Regions from separate parts of the Homo sapiens genome. Here all the other regions are linked to region 1. The links are contacts of gene promoters, found by promoter capture Hi-C in blood cells and fetal thymus (Javierre and others, 2016). All regions are on one chromosome and are shown on one strand. Each heading gives the region's core, a stretch centred on a gene start or on the middle of the fragment in contact. The rest is flanking DNA. Distances are from core to core; before and after follow the strand shown.

What was found. Contacts are between HindIII fragments. The CHiCAGO score rates a contact against its expected background, and 5 or more counts as called.
Region 2: a contact is called between a fragment that was not itself captured here and the fragment with the promoter of IL20RB-AS1 in region 1, in 1 of 17 cell types (fetal thymus). The highest score is 5.2, in fetal thymus.
Region 3: a contact is called between a fragment that was not itself captured here and the fragment with the promoter of IL20RB-AS1 in region 1, in 6 of 17 cell types (non-activated CD4 T cells, naive CD8 T cells, endothelial precursors and 3 more). The highest score is 6.2, in non-activated CD4 T cells.

What each region holds. Positions count from the first base shown.
Region 1 is chr3:136,980,026-136,984,565 of GRCh38, forward strand. IL20RB-AS1 (IL20RB antisense RNA 1) reads right to left here and starts at 2,166. Exons shown (of 4, transcript NR_183729.1): 1 at 2,038-2,166. IL20RB (interleukin 20 receptor subunit beta) reads left to right here. Exons shown (of 7, transcript NM_144717.4): 2 at 441-567; 3 at 2,135-2,325. The HindIII fragment of the contact is 2,087 bases long and covers 919-3,005 here.
Region 2 is chr3:136,738,869-136,743,408 of GRCh38, forward strand. The region is part of intron 1 of STAG1 (STAG1 cohesin complex component); the gene reads right to left. Among named protein-coding and RNA genes, the nearest start is that of STAG1, 11 kb to the right of the region's middle. The HindIII fragment of the contact is 855 bases long and covers 1,448-2,302 here.
Region 3 is chr3:136,784,042-136,788,581 of GRCh38, forward strand. No RefSeq gene overlaps it. Among named protein-coding and RNA genes, the nearest start is that of SLC35G2, 33 kb to the right of the region's middle. The HindIII fragment of the contact is 1,504 bases long and covers 1,136-2,639 here.

The DNA of each region.
Region 1 (4,540 bases), core at 916-3,415:
CAGTTTTCTCATTTGTACAATGGAAAAACTAATGGTCTTTACCTCCCAGTATGGTCATGAGAATTCAATAAGACAGTCATGTAACAATCCAGCACATGGTCTAGATAGAACATGGTAAGTATTAGATAAATATTAGTCATTATTATTATTAATATTGATATGTCATTTATCAACAAAGTCAGAATTATAATGGTGGTACCCAAAATTTAGTGTTAACATAAGCATGATAAAATTAGAGTTGTTTCTGGTTTATAAACATGTGAGGCTTTTTTTTTTTTGAGACAGAGTCTCATTCTGTTGTCTAGGCTGGAGTGCAGTGGTGCAATCTCAGCTTACTGCAACCTCCGCCAGTGAGGCCCTTCATTAGACACTAATTTGAAGCTATGGCATTCCCCCACTATGAGCCCACCTGTCAGCCAGGCTATCTGCCTTGATCCTAGATGAAGTGGCCATTCTGCCTGCCCCTCAGAACCTCTCTGTACTCTCAACCAACATGAAGCATCTCTTGATGTGGAGCCCAGTGATCGCGCCTGGAGAAACAGTGTACTATTCTGTCGAATACCAGGGGTGAGTTTTTTCTTTTAATAGTTCTTCTCCCTTAAGCAGAAGTTGGTTCCTGAAGGCATAGCCCTTCCTCCTGAGCCCAAGGTGGCTTTTTGAGTCCAGGGATAGATTATCCCCAAAGATCTACCCCCTCTGTCTGCATAGGCATTGAAAGAGTTGAAGAAGCAAGGGAAATTGTTCTGTGGATTTGACAGTGAACTCTCTGGGAAGATGAATGTGCATAACACATTTTGGTGGAGTTATTTTAAAAAGTGAATCAACTGTCCAATGGGTTTGACTCTGACTTGAGATGGATAAATCACTGGAGACTCAGATCCTTTAAGGGTGGAGGAGTCCTCACTTTTCCTGACTATAAGCTTATACCTAGAGCCAAAACGAACTATAATCCTAAAGGTCAGCTGGCCCTGGGGCTGAGCAGGCTCTAGTCTTCTCCAGGTGTTCAGGTGCTTGCAGCTATTGAATAGTGATAAGGACACAGAAATTGCTCCATATATTTCATTAACAATGAATACAGACTGAACACCTACATGTGTAGACATTCTTCTAGGCTCAGGGATACAGTTGACAAGGTTTCTGGATTTTGAGAGCTTACATCTAGAGGAGGATACAGATGATAAATATACTAGGCCAGCATTCTCTAGTATGGTAGCCACCAGCCACAGCTGGCTATTTAAATTTAAATTAAATTAAATTAAATTAAATTAAATTAAAATGTCTGTTTCCTGCCACACTAGTCACATTTTAGGTGTTCAATAGCCACATGTGGCCAGTGGTTACCATATTGAACAACATCGATTTAGAATATTTGCATCATCACAGAAAGTTTATTTTTGGAAAGCACTGCTCTAGGGAATTTTGGATAGTAATCAGTGCTAGGAGGAAGCTAAAAGGCTGATGCCATAGAGAGTTGACACTGAGGCTCCTTTATATTAGATGGCCTGGGATGGCCTCTCTGAGGAGGTGATATTTATGCCATATCTGAAGGACAAGAGGAGCCAGCCATGCGAACAGCAGGGGCAGAGCGTTTGAGATGGAGTGAACAGTTAGTCAAAGGTCCTAAGGCAAAAAGTGCTCAGCATTTTGGAGAAATGACCAATGTGGCAAGAATATCACGCTTCGGAGCAGAGTGAGAGAGAAGGCCAAAGCATCTTGTAAGACCACTGGCAAGAGTTTGGATCCCATTCTAAGTCCTGTAGGAAGCCATTAAGGAGAGAAACGTCACAATCTGCTGAGTGGTGAATGGTTTTGAGAATGGCAGGTGTCCAAGCTGGGAGATCACAGCAAGGCAAGGAATGACAGTGGCTGAGATTAGGGTGATGACCCTGGAGATGAAGAGATAAAAGAGATCCAGACACATTGATGTTTATGCCTAGCTTTCCCTATCTGGCAATAAAAGGAGTAAGGGACGATGGATGGTTGGTAGGGAGGAGAGTGGAGGAGCTAGGATAATGAGAAAGTACTTATTTTACTTACCTGTACAAAGTAGGTGAACGAAGTCAGTTACTTGCAACCATAACTGAGCCTGTGTCAGAGGGGCTGGTGTAACTCTGTGCCCTCCTCTCTTTGACAGGGAGTACGAGAGCCTGTACACGAGCCACATCTGGATCCCCAGCAGCTGGTGCTCACTCACTGAAGGTCCTGAGTGTGATGTCACTGATGACATCACGGCCACTGTGCCATACAACCTTCGTGTCAGGGCCACATTGGGCTCACAGACCTCAGCCTGGAGCATCCTGAAGCATCCCTTTAATAGAAACTCAAGTAAGGCACTTCTCTCCTTACACTCCCACCCCAACCAGCCCCTCCTTTAGGAACCATGTTCACCTAAACTTTCTAGACTCTTTTTAGCATCAGAATAGTCCTGCAAAGCCAGAGTATTGTGAACACAAACAACCCTTACTGGTATATTTGAAAAATTGCCAACTGCTTTCTACATGCTGCTCTCTGTCATGCCCTTTGACTACTCAAGTCATTCCTGACTGTCTGTGTCAGGGTGTGCAGGTGTTGGGGATGCTGACATTGGGAACCTGGAAGGAAAGCTGCTCTGGAAGTGAAGAGGTGGCACCAGGACTGCTGCTCCCTACTCTGATTGTGCCTCCATAAATTGTGCCTCCCACTTGAGGCCTCATTAACTGCATATTTACTGCCCACGTAAGCAGCTTTGTTGTGCAAGAGGATTTATACACTTAACAGAGCCACCAGAAAATTGCCCTTCTGTAATGACTTCTGTGGGAAATAAATAACTTTTCTTTTGGAGTAGTACCTGGAAAAGGATTGAGAAAGAAGTAATAGAGGAATCCAGATAGGTGGCCAAATGTGGCTGAGTACAAGCACTGGTCATTGTATAAAAGGACATGTGTGTTTGCGGAACAGGAGAGGCAAGGGCTGATGGGCAGGGGGTAGGGAAGCAGTTGATCATGTGGTGAAGGGCTTTGACACGAAGCTTGACCAAGTCAGTAGAGGGTAGCCAATGAAAGAGGAGAGGATCTAGACCAGGTCTATCTCTTTTTTTTTTTGATACGGAGTCTCACTCTGTCACCCAGGTTGGTGTGCAGTGGCGTGATCTCAGCTCACTGCAACCTCTGTCTCCTGGGTTCAAGTGATTCTCCTGCCTCAGCCTCCTGAGTAGCTGGGACTACAGGCGTGCACCACCATGCCTGGCTAATTTTTGTATTTTTAGTAGAGACAGGGTTTCACTATGTTTTCCAGGCTGGTCTGGAACTCCTGACCTCAAGTCATCTGCCCACTTCGGCCTCCCAAAGTGCTGGGATTACAGGCATGAGCCATGGCGCCCGGCCGACCAGGTCTATCTTACAAAGCAACACTCTGGCTGCTGTGTGGAAAGTGAACCAGAGTAGGGCAAGCCTGCAGGACAGGGGAAGAGTGAGGAGGGGGTTGTAATACTCCTACTGATCCCAAGAGTTTGGAAGGGGATGGGAAGGAGATGATGAATCCAAGAAACATGGCTGATTTAGAAAGGACAGAGCTTAGGAATCAAGTTTGTGGGGACAGAAAAGGGAGAGATAATGATAGTATTCAGCTGTCAAATGGAATTGGTGAGAACACCAGCTAAGGCAAATAACCCAGGGGGAAACAACTGGTCTTGAAGAATAGGAGACACCCCCGGCTTTGAGACTGAGATTTCTACAAGATGTCATCTTGTGGATGTCTGACTGGCAGCTGGAAATCAGTCCCTGAGGCTTAGAAAGCTCAAAGGCAGATACATAACACAAAGTGGTTTTGTTTGTTTGTTTGTTTTGTTTTTGAGGTGGAGTCTTGCTCTTTTGCCCAGGCTGGAGTGCAGTGGTGCCAACACAGCTCACTGCAGCCTTGCCCTCCTGGGCTCAAGCGATCCTCCTGCCTCAGGCCCCCAAGAAGCTGGGAATACAGGCACATGCCACCATGCCTGACTAATTTTTTTGTATTTTTGGTAGAGATGGGGTTTCACCATGTTGCCCAGGCTGGTCTCGGACTCCTGAGCTTAAGTGATCCTCTTGCCTCAGCCTCACGAAGTGCTGGGATTATAGGAATGAGCCATCGCACAGGGCCATCACAAAGTTAACAGCTAAAGGCTTGGAAGTAGACGAGACTGTTTAGGGACAAGACGCTGAAGATAAAGAGAGGACAAGGTCCTGGAAAACCTCAGACTTTAAAATGTGGATGGAGGGAAGGGCACCAGGGTAGAGGATAATGGAAAGGAGAATAGAACAGCTCCTGAGAGGCTGGAGGAAGCCCCTGGATGGGCCCTTGAGAAAGTAACTTCATGGAGTGGAAAGGATGACCATCTGGCTGCTGGAGTGGAGGATTGCATGGAGGTAGGAAGGAGCAAGGAATGGGTGGGAATGTAACCAGTTTAGAGCTGCAGGAAAGGCAAGATAAGGGTCTTCTTTGGTCTCTGTTTTCGTGATGTGGCAGAAGAGCTTCTGTTGTGAAAGATGGTGGAAGAAGGTTTGGGGCAGAATTTGCAGCATTCGGA
Region 2 (4,540 bases), core at 625-3,124, 240 kb before region 1:
TACACATATACCAAAGTTATTCACCATAAACATAATTTGTCCATTTAAAAATAAGTCAATTTTTCTAAAAATAAAAAAAAGACTCTAAACTGTATTCCCATCTTAAAAATGAGAAAATCGAGGACTCCAGAAAGTAATGTCCTACCCAAGATAATTATTACATAATGGAATAGGGAAGAAAATCAAATCTCCCTAAAATAAACTTCAAAATGCAAAGTATTTCAACATGCAGAAATGAGGCTGAGAGAAAAATGGCCTTTTAAGAAATTTAGAGACTGGGTTCTGAAACAGCCTAAGTTCAAATTCTGGCTCTATCATTTACTAGCTGTTTGGCCTTGGGACAATTAATTTCAAACACTACACACTGGGTGAGGCTCGGTGGCTCACAACTATAATCCCAGCATTTTGGGAAGCCAAGGCTGGGGGACTGTTGAGCCCAGGAGTTCAAGACCAACCTTGGCAACATGGTGAGACCCTGTCTCTACGAAAAAACGTATTTTAATTAGCTGGGCCTGGTGGCACACACCTGTGGTCCCAGGTACTCCCAGCTAGTTGGGAGGATGAGGTGAGAGGTTGAGGCTGCAGTGAGCCGTGATCACGTCACAGCACTCCAGCATGGGGCAACAGACTCCGTCAAAAAAAAAAAAAAAAGAAAAAAAAAAAAAGAAAGGCTAGGTGTGGTGGCTGACACCTGTAATCCCAGCACTTTTGGGAGGTCAAGGCAGAGGATTGCCTGAGGTCAGGAGTTCGAGACCAGCCTGGCCAACATAGTGAAACCCCATCTCTACTAAAAATACAAAAAAAAATTAGCCAGATGTGGTGGCAGGCACCTGTAGTCCCAGCTACTCGAGAGGCTGAGGCAGGAGAATCACTTGAACCTAGGAGGCAGAGGTTGCAGTGAGCCGAGATCGCGCCACTGCACTCCATCCTGGGCAACAAGAGCAAGACTTCATCTCAAAAAAAATAATAATTATATACATATATACACACACACACATACACACATATATATTACACAGGATACTGTGCCTTATAAACACTGCCACTTACTAAACCTTATGACGCCAACAATAAATGCAACGGGATAGATACAGAGGATAAAGATTGGCTGAAGTTATCTGTAAAGATTTCACACAGATTCCACATCTTACTCTGCGTTTGCTTTTTCTTTTCTTTGTGAACTATATCAATTATACAGTACATTATGTAAAATTCTAAATAACAGTTTAAAGAATTTTAAAGCACGGTGGCAGGCACCTGTAATCTCAGCTACTCGGGAGGCTGAGGCACAAGAATCGCTTGAGGCGGAGGTTTCAGTGAGCCAAGATCACACCACTGCACTCCAGCCCGGGCAACAAAGCGAGATTCCATCTCAAAAAAAAGAGAGAATTTTAACGCAAACACTCCATGTAATTATTACTAAGGTCAAGAAATAGACTACTACAAAAGCTTCTCCATAATATGTCCCTCCCTAATTACAAACTTGGGAAATTTAATCCAAGCCTCAGTTCCTCACCAGTAAAAGGGGGATAACACCAACATAACAATAACTACCCCACAGGGTTATTGTAAAATGTTTATTGGCATATAGTAAATGCTCAATGTTCTTTTTTGCTTTTGTTCTTTTTTTGAGACAGAGTCTCACTTTGTCACCCAGGCTGGAGTGTAGTGGCGCAATCTCAGCTCACTACAACCTTGACCTCCTGGGCTCAAACTATCCTCTGCCTCAGCCCCCCAAGTAGCTGGGACTACAGGTGCGCACTACCACACCTAACTAATTTTTTGTATTTTTTGTAGACACAGGGTTTCACTATGTTGCCCAGGCTTGTCTGAAACTCCTGAACTCAAGTGATCGCCCGCCCCAGCCTCCAAAAGGGCTAGGATTACAGGTGGAAGCCACTATGCCTAGCCAAGCGTTTTCTTACACACACACATATTCACCAGAACAAAGACGTGGGGAAAGACAGGATACGAGTATGTAATCTAATTTGGTGATAACATATAACCATAGAGAAGTACAATGAAGAGATAAAGCTGGAAAGCTAGGTTGTAGCCATGTAAGAAACAAAAGAAAAACTTAAGCAAATAACAAAAGGGAAACTGAGAAAATTCACTAGACAGTTTTGGAAGACAACTCTCCATGGAGTCTCTTGATTTTCTGCCTGTCTTGAGAAGAGAAGCACTGGAAGCCTTTGTTCCAATCTTTTCAGGATAGTTATATAGTGAAGGGTCCTGGAAGAAAGACATGTCCCAGAGCAAAAAGCGTATTTATGACCCATTATAAAAGATCTGAGTTTCTCTAAGCTTGGGATTTCACTACTTGTGCAGGTTTCACCTGGACCTCTTCCCAATGACCTATGCAAACTGGAGCTCAGAAATCTGATGCAAATGCTGACTGTCTGGCTACTGACACAGTGCATCGTTCTTCATCTATGACCAAGTCATTTCAATGACTTCTACCATAAGCCATTAAACTATGCCAAGTTAACTTGTCAGCCTATAAATAGGGTAAAACTTCAAACTCTTCATAGTTCTTGACAGACATTAGCATATGATCAATGATTATTATAACTGAAAGATTCCACTTCCATGTTGTTGGAAGGAATTTTTTTTTTTGGAGATGGAGTTTTGCTCTTGTTGCCCAGGCTGGAGTGCGATGTCGCGATCTCAGCTCACCACAACCTCCACCTCCCGGGTTCAAGCGATTCTCCTGCCTCAGCCTTTTAAGTAGCTGGGATTACAGGCGCCCACCACAATGCCCGGCTAATTTTGTATTTTTAGTAGAGATGGGGTTTCTCCACGTTGGTCACGCTGGTCTTGAACTCTTGACCTCAGATGATCCGCCTGCCTCGGCCTCCCAAAGTGCTGGGATTACAGGCATGAGTCACTGTGCCTGGCCAGGAATTTTTTAAAAAGCAATACTCGACTATATACTACCATCAAAAGCAATTTAAATATAATGAAGAGTTTTGGGTAAATAGGTAGAAAAAGATATATTATGGAAACAGTAAGCTCAAGATCGCTGGAGTGGCTATATTAACATCAAATAAAGCAGACTTCAAGGAAAAGATTATTACCAGAAACAGAGAGACATTTCATCACAATAAAAAGGTCAATTTGTCAAAACAACATAATAATCATAAGTTGTACATGTCTTACAACAGAGCTTCAAAATGAGTGAGAAAAACTTGACAGAATTAAGGGAAAAACAGATAATTCCACAGTCATAGTTGGATATTTTAACTTTCTTCTTGGCAGCTGATAGAATGAGACAAAACAACAACAACAAAAAACAACAACAAATACATAGATTATTTGAAAAGTGCTATTAAAACACCTTAACCTAATTGATAGTTACAGAATACTACACCCAACAACTGCAAAACACACTTTCAAGTATAAAAGATACATTAACCAAGATGGACCATATGCTGGCCCATAAAATAAGTTTCAATAAATTTTAAAGGATTAAAATCATAAAGATATGACTCAAAATGAAACTAAGTTAGAAATCAGTAATAAGTTATCTAGAATAATCCCAAATATTGAAAATTAAACAACAAGGCTGGGCACGGTGGCTCATGCCTATAATCTGAGCACTTTGGGAGGCTGAGGCAGGCGGATCCTTGAAGTCAGGAGTTCAAGACTAGCCTAGCTAACATGGCAAAACCCCGTCTCCACTAAAAAAATACAAAAATTAGCTGGGTGTGGTGGTGTGCGCCTGTAATCCCAGCTACTGTGGAGACTGAGACAGGAGAATCACCTGAACCTGGAAGGTGGAGGTTTCAGTGAGCAGAGATTGCGCCACTGCACTCCAGTCTGGGTGACAGAGCAAGACTCCATCTCAAAAAAAAAAAAAAGAAAAGAAAATTAAACCACACACTTCTAAGTAATCCATGGGTAAAAGAAGATATCACAAATTAAAAAGAATGTCAAGGTAAATTATAAACATAAAACACATCAAAGTCTGAGTAATGTAGCAGTGCTTAGAGAAAAATATATAGCTTTAAATGTATTTATTAGAAAACAAAAAGTGCCTAAAATCTATAACCTAAAATTTCACTTTAAAAGGCTGGAAAGAAAGCAAAGCAGAAGAAAATTTTAAAAAGCAGAAACCAATGAGATACTAAAGACAAATACTGACAATTACCTCAGTTGGTTATTTGAAAAAATAACCGATAAATCACTAGACTGGTCAAGATAAAAAGAACATACTGGCCAGATGCAGTGGCTCACGCCTGTAATCCTAACACTTTGGGAGGCCGAGAAGGGTGAACAGCTTGAGGCCAGGAATTCAAAACCAGTATGGCCAACATAGTGAAACCCTGTCTCTACTAAAAATACAAAAAATTAGTCAGGCGTAGTGGAGGGCACCTGTAATCCCAGCTACTCGGGAGGCTGAGGCAGGAGAATCAGTTGAACCCAGGAGGCGGAAGTTACAGTGAGCTAAGATTGCACCACTGCACTCCAGCCTGGGCAACAAGAATGAAACTCCTTCTCAAAAAAAAAAAATAATAATAACAATACCAGAAATTAAAGA
Region 3 (4,540 bases), core at 638-3,137, 200 kb before region 1:
TTCTTTTATAGTGTGGCTGACCTTATAAAATAAATACTGCTTCCTTGGCAAAAGAATTTAAGTTCCCTCCAAGAGCTAGGGCACCCTGATGCCCTGGAACATGCCTTCGGCTTGACTCACAAGTCAACACGAGGTTTGGATTCTAATCCCGGATCTTCTGTTACCTTAATCTCAATCTCTCCTCCAAAGCAAGAGAATTGGACTCCATGACTACTGAGTTCAGGCCCAGCTGGGTTAAACTGATGGGTTCTTTTTTTTTTTTTTTGAGACGGAGTCTCGCTCTGTTGCCCAGGCTGGAGTGCAGTGGTGCGATCTCGGCTCACTGCAAGCTTCACCTCCTGGGTTCACGCCATTCTCCTGCCTCAGCCTGCTGAGTAGCTGGGACTACAGGCGCCCGCCACCTCGCCCGGCTAATTTTTTGTATTTTTAGTAGAGACGGGGTTTCACCGTGTTAGCCAGGATGGTCTCGATCTCCTGACCTCGTGATCCACCCACCTCGGCCTCCCAAAGTGCTGGGATTACAGGCGTGAGCCGCCGCGCCCGGCCAAACTGATGGATTCTAAAGGGAATTGGACATATTGAGGTGCAGAACAAACTGGTATGCAGAGAAAAGAACACTAATTAGAGTCACCGTCACCGGGACTCTGCCTCTCTATATTACTCTTCTTTTCTTCTCAGTTGGCTGTTCCCAAAACGGGCTCAAGCAGCTGCAGGCAGGCATTGTACTAATTTCACGGTGAGCAAAAGGAAAGATTATTTTCCCTCATGGTTCCAGAAGAAGTTGCAGAATTAAATCTCATTGTCTAAGATTAACTTGGTTGGGACACATGCAGTAGTGGATGTTTTGGCACTCCACTCAGATCCCTTTTATCAGCTGGTGCACCCCTTCCATTCTTTACCCTTTCCCCCACTCCCTGCAGCTATTTTGAGGCTGTGGCCAGCAGTTTAAACCTGTGACCTTGGTTTATGAGAGGTGTTTTAGGTTGTCAAAAGCCTCCTAGCCTAGGGATGCCGGGGAAGTTACACTGTCTCAATATATAGACTAATAACTAATAGATATGGAGTTTCTTAACAGGCTAACCTCCTTGCTTCAAGGCAGAAACAACTCTGTAGTGTAATTTGTGTTCCAGAGGCAAGCTTCCCTCTCCACACACAAAACCAGACCAAGACTAGATTTTACCTGACATCAGGTCGTTACTTGGCTCCTTCTCCTTCTCTATCTTGCTCCCTTACAGGTTTCTCTAAGAGCATTCCCTGCCTTTCTTACATCTGAATCCTTGCCTCAGGCTCTGCTTCTAGGGAACTTCATCCAAGACACATTTCTGAACCAGTCATTGAAGGAGTGGCTAAGTGTTTCTTAGGGACAAACCAGGTAATATGCCCATCTACACCTCATAAACCTGAATTACTGAATGTTTCATGGAGGACTTTGGTTTGTTTAGTACTATAACCCCAATATTCAAAATAATTCATTTACTTGTATTACGAAAATAAATCAAGGAAAGAATGGACTGAGTGTGTGTGTGTTTGAATCCTTGAAATGGAAGAAATATAGTGCCAACAAGGGACCTGAGTGAGTGCAGCCCAGCCTGAATTTACGACGTGCAGCCAAAACGGCTGCTCTCAGCTTGCATGTATGTGGCCAAGAGGCAGAGCTGATAGGTCAGCACAGAAGCTGGCCCTCATCCTGTCATCCTGTCTCAATTTCTTTTTTCTTTTTTTCTTTTTCTTTTTTGAGATGGAGTCTCATTCTGTTACCCAGGCTGAAGTGTAGTGGCATGATCTTGGCTCACTGCAACCTCAACCTCCATCTAAGGCAGTGATTCTCCTGCCTTAGCCTCCCTAGTTAGTAGCTGGGATTACAGGTGCCCGCCACCATGCCAAGCAAATTTTTGTATTTTTAGTGGAGATGGGGTTTCACCATGTTGGCCAGGTTGGTCTCAAACTTCTGACCTCAAGTGATCTGCCTGCCTGTGCTTCCCAATGTGCTGGGATTACAGTCATGATAAACTTATTTTATTTTATTTATTTATTTTTGTGTGTGTGTGTGACAGAGTTTTACTCTGTTGCCCAGGCTGGAGAGCAGTGGCACGATCTTGGCTCACTGCAACCTCTGCCTCCCAGGTTCAAGCAATTCTCTTGTCTCAGCCTCCTGAATAACTGGGACTACAGACGCATGCCACCACACCTGGCTAATTTTTGTAGTTTTTTAGATACAAAAAAAGAGATGGGATTTCACTGTGTTGGCCAGACTGGTCTCGAATGCCTGACCTCAAGTGATCTGCCTGCCTCAGCCTCCCGAAGTGCTGGGAATTACAGGAGTGAGCCACTGCGCCCTGCCCGATTTTGTTTTGAATGGAACATGTGATCACTCTGATATTCAAAGGAGTAGTAGCAGAGAGCACAGGACTTGGTGCCCTCCAAAGCCTATGGGAGTCTTGAAGGATATTCCAAATGTGGAAAAAAAATATTTTTTTCCCAAGAAAATTTGTGCGTGTGAAAGAGTGTGTGTGTGTGTGTGTGTGTGTGTGTGTGTGTGTGTATGACTGTTACCAGAAGAAAGGGGATTGAATGTAGGAATGTGGAATGATAACTATGCACTACAACGATAAACAAGCGGAACTGAACTTAAAAACCAAAGCTTTCACTCTGCCAAAGACCAAATTTTTGTTAATGACCATACATGCCAAGCATTTGTGATTCTAAGCACTGCTTTCACTTTAGGATTAAAAAAATATCCTAGGAAGTGTGTTTGTTGCTTATTTGTTATCTGGTGAGTAATGGAATTACTTCAAGTAGATAATGAAAATCCGCTTTTTATTTAATATAAGAATTGCAGAGAGCAGAAACTAAAATCCTGTAAACAATTTCTTGCTGAGTCATTCACCCTTGCTCAAGACAAGCTTTCACTTTGCACTGAATTTTAATGTGATGTTTCTTCATCTTCCCCCACCTTCTGTACCATAGTCAGCTAGTCAGTAATTTCTCTTTGACCAGAGTGATACTGTCCTCCCAGAATGGTCAGGCAGACAGCTGAGACATTTCTAGGGATCTCCATACTTTTTCACTTCCAAGGATCCATTCATGATCTTTCTCCCAAGGATCCATGGGTGTAAGACCTCATTGCAACACAAACTATGCGTCTGGAAAATAATTAATTTGTGTCCTCAAAATTTATTAATTGTAGTAACCATGCTGGTATAATTCTAGCACAAACTAAAGCAGTTTTTTAGTTACTTTTAAAAGCACTCTCATGAGTTAAAGCGGGATTTCTATCAAGCTTTCTGAAATAATGAAAATGTTGGAAGTCATTAAATAACTTTATTCCAGGGAGATATATGTTTGCAAAGATAATTCTGGTTTGGGTAGGAGAAAAGCCAAGTCAGGGAGATCTGCCAGAAGACTGTTTTGGTAGTCCAAAGAGAGAGAGATTTGTTAATAAAGAGAAGCATGAGAAATGCCCTTTGGAGTAAAATTGACTACCTCAGAGTGTCTAGCTTCACTGTGCTAAATAAGGCAGGACCTGCTGTGCAGAGACCAAAACTAACAAGTCTCTCAGAACCACTGTACTCAGCATCTCCCCTGAACAGTCTGTGTAGCTGTCACCAGGTGGCACGTGGTAGGAATCTGGGTCATGCTGTGTAACCTTCCTGGTTAGGCCACGAAGAAGTGAGAGAAGTGCAGTCCATATGATTTGGTCCATAAATACAAAACTTCTCCTTGATATGAATTAACCAACTACTAACAGGGCCAAATGATAACATTCATGAGCTTTGGGCAGTTTTGAATCTGTGGGCCCTTCCCTCCATAATAAATATTAAAAATTATATTTTATAACTGCATTGGTATAAAGATGAATATAATCCATGCTGGTTTCTTTTTTTTTATTGTGGTAAAATATACATAACATTTCCCATTTTAACCATTTTTAACCATACAGTTCAGTGGCTTTAAGTACACTGGATTCTTTTTATATGTTTATTATTATTTATTTATTTTTATTTATTCTGATTTTAAAAGAAATTAAAATTAAAACATTCTGCAGGCCCTTAAAAGTATCTCGGTCCCTAGATACTGTGCTAGCTGTACCTAATGGATGAGTTGGCCATGACTATTAGATGGCAAAAAAAGGGCAAGAAAGAGCAAATTTGAAATGTACTCAAACTCATTTTACAGTTCACACACACAAAATGACATTCCAACTTGCTTTTCCTTTCTGCAGGGAGACATTAATCCTAGGAAGCAGTGTGTTTACTGGATGGAACACAGGACTATGGCACACTGAGATCAAGCATTATTTTTGTCCCATACTAGGTATGTATCATACTCAGCACAATGTGGAGCTCAGACAGGCCCATGCGAGGAGCCCAAGGGGGTCAGTGCCAGCAGACTCAGAAACAGCACCAGCTCCAGGCTAAGAGGTTGGGGCAGAGACTCCAGATGAAGGCCAGGACAGCTCCCAGGGGTCCAATAGGAATAATCCAAAGTTCAGTAGGGGACATATGTACCAATCATAGCCACAAACTAGAGAATGGAAACA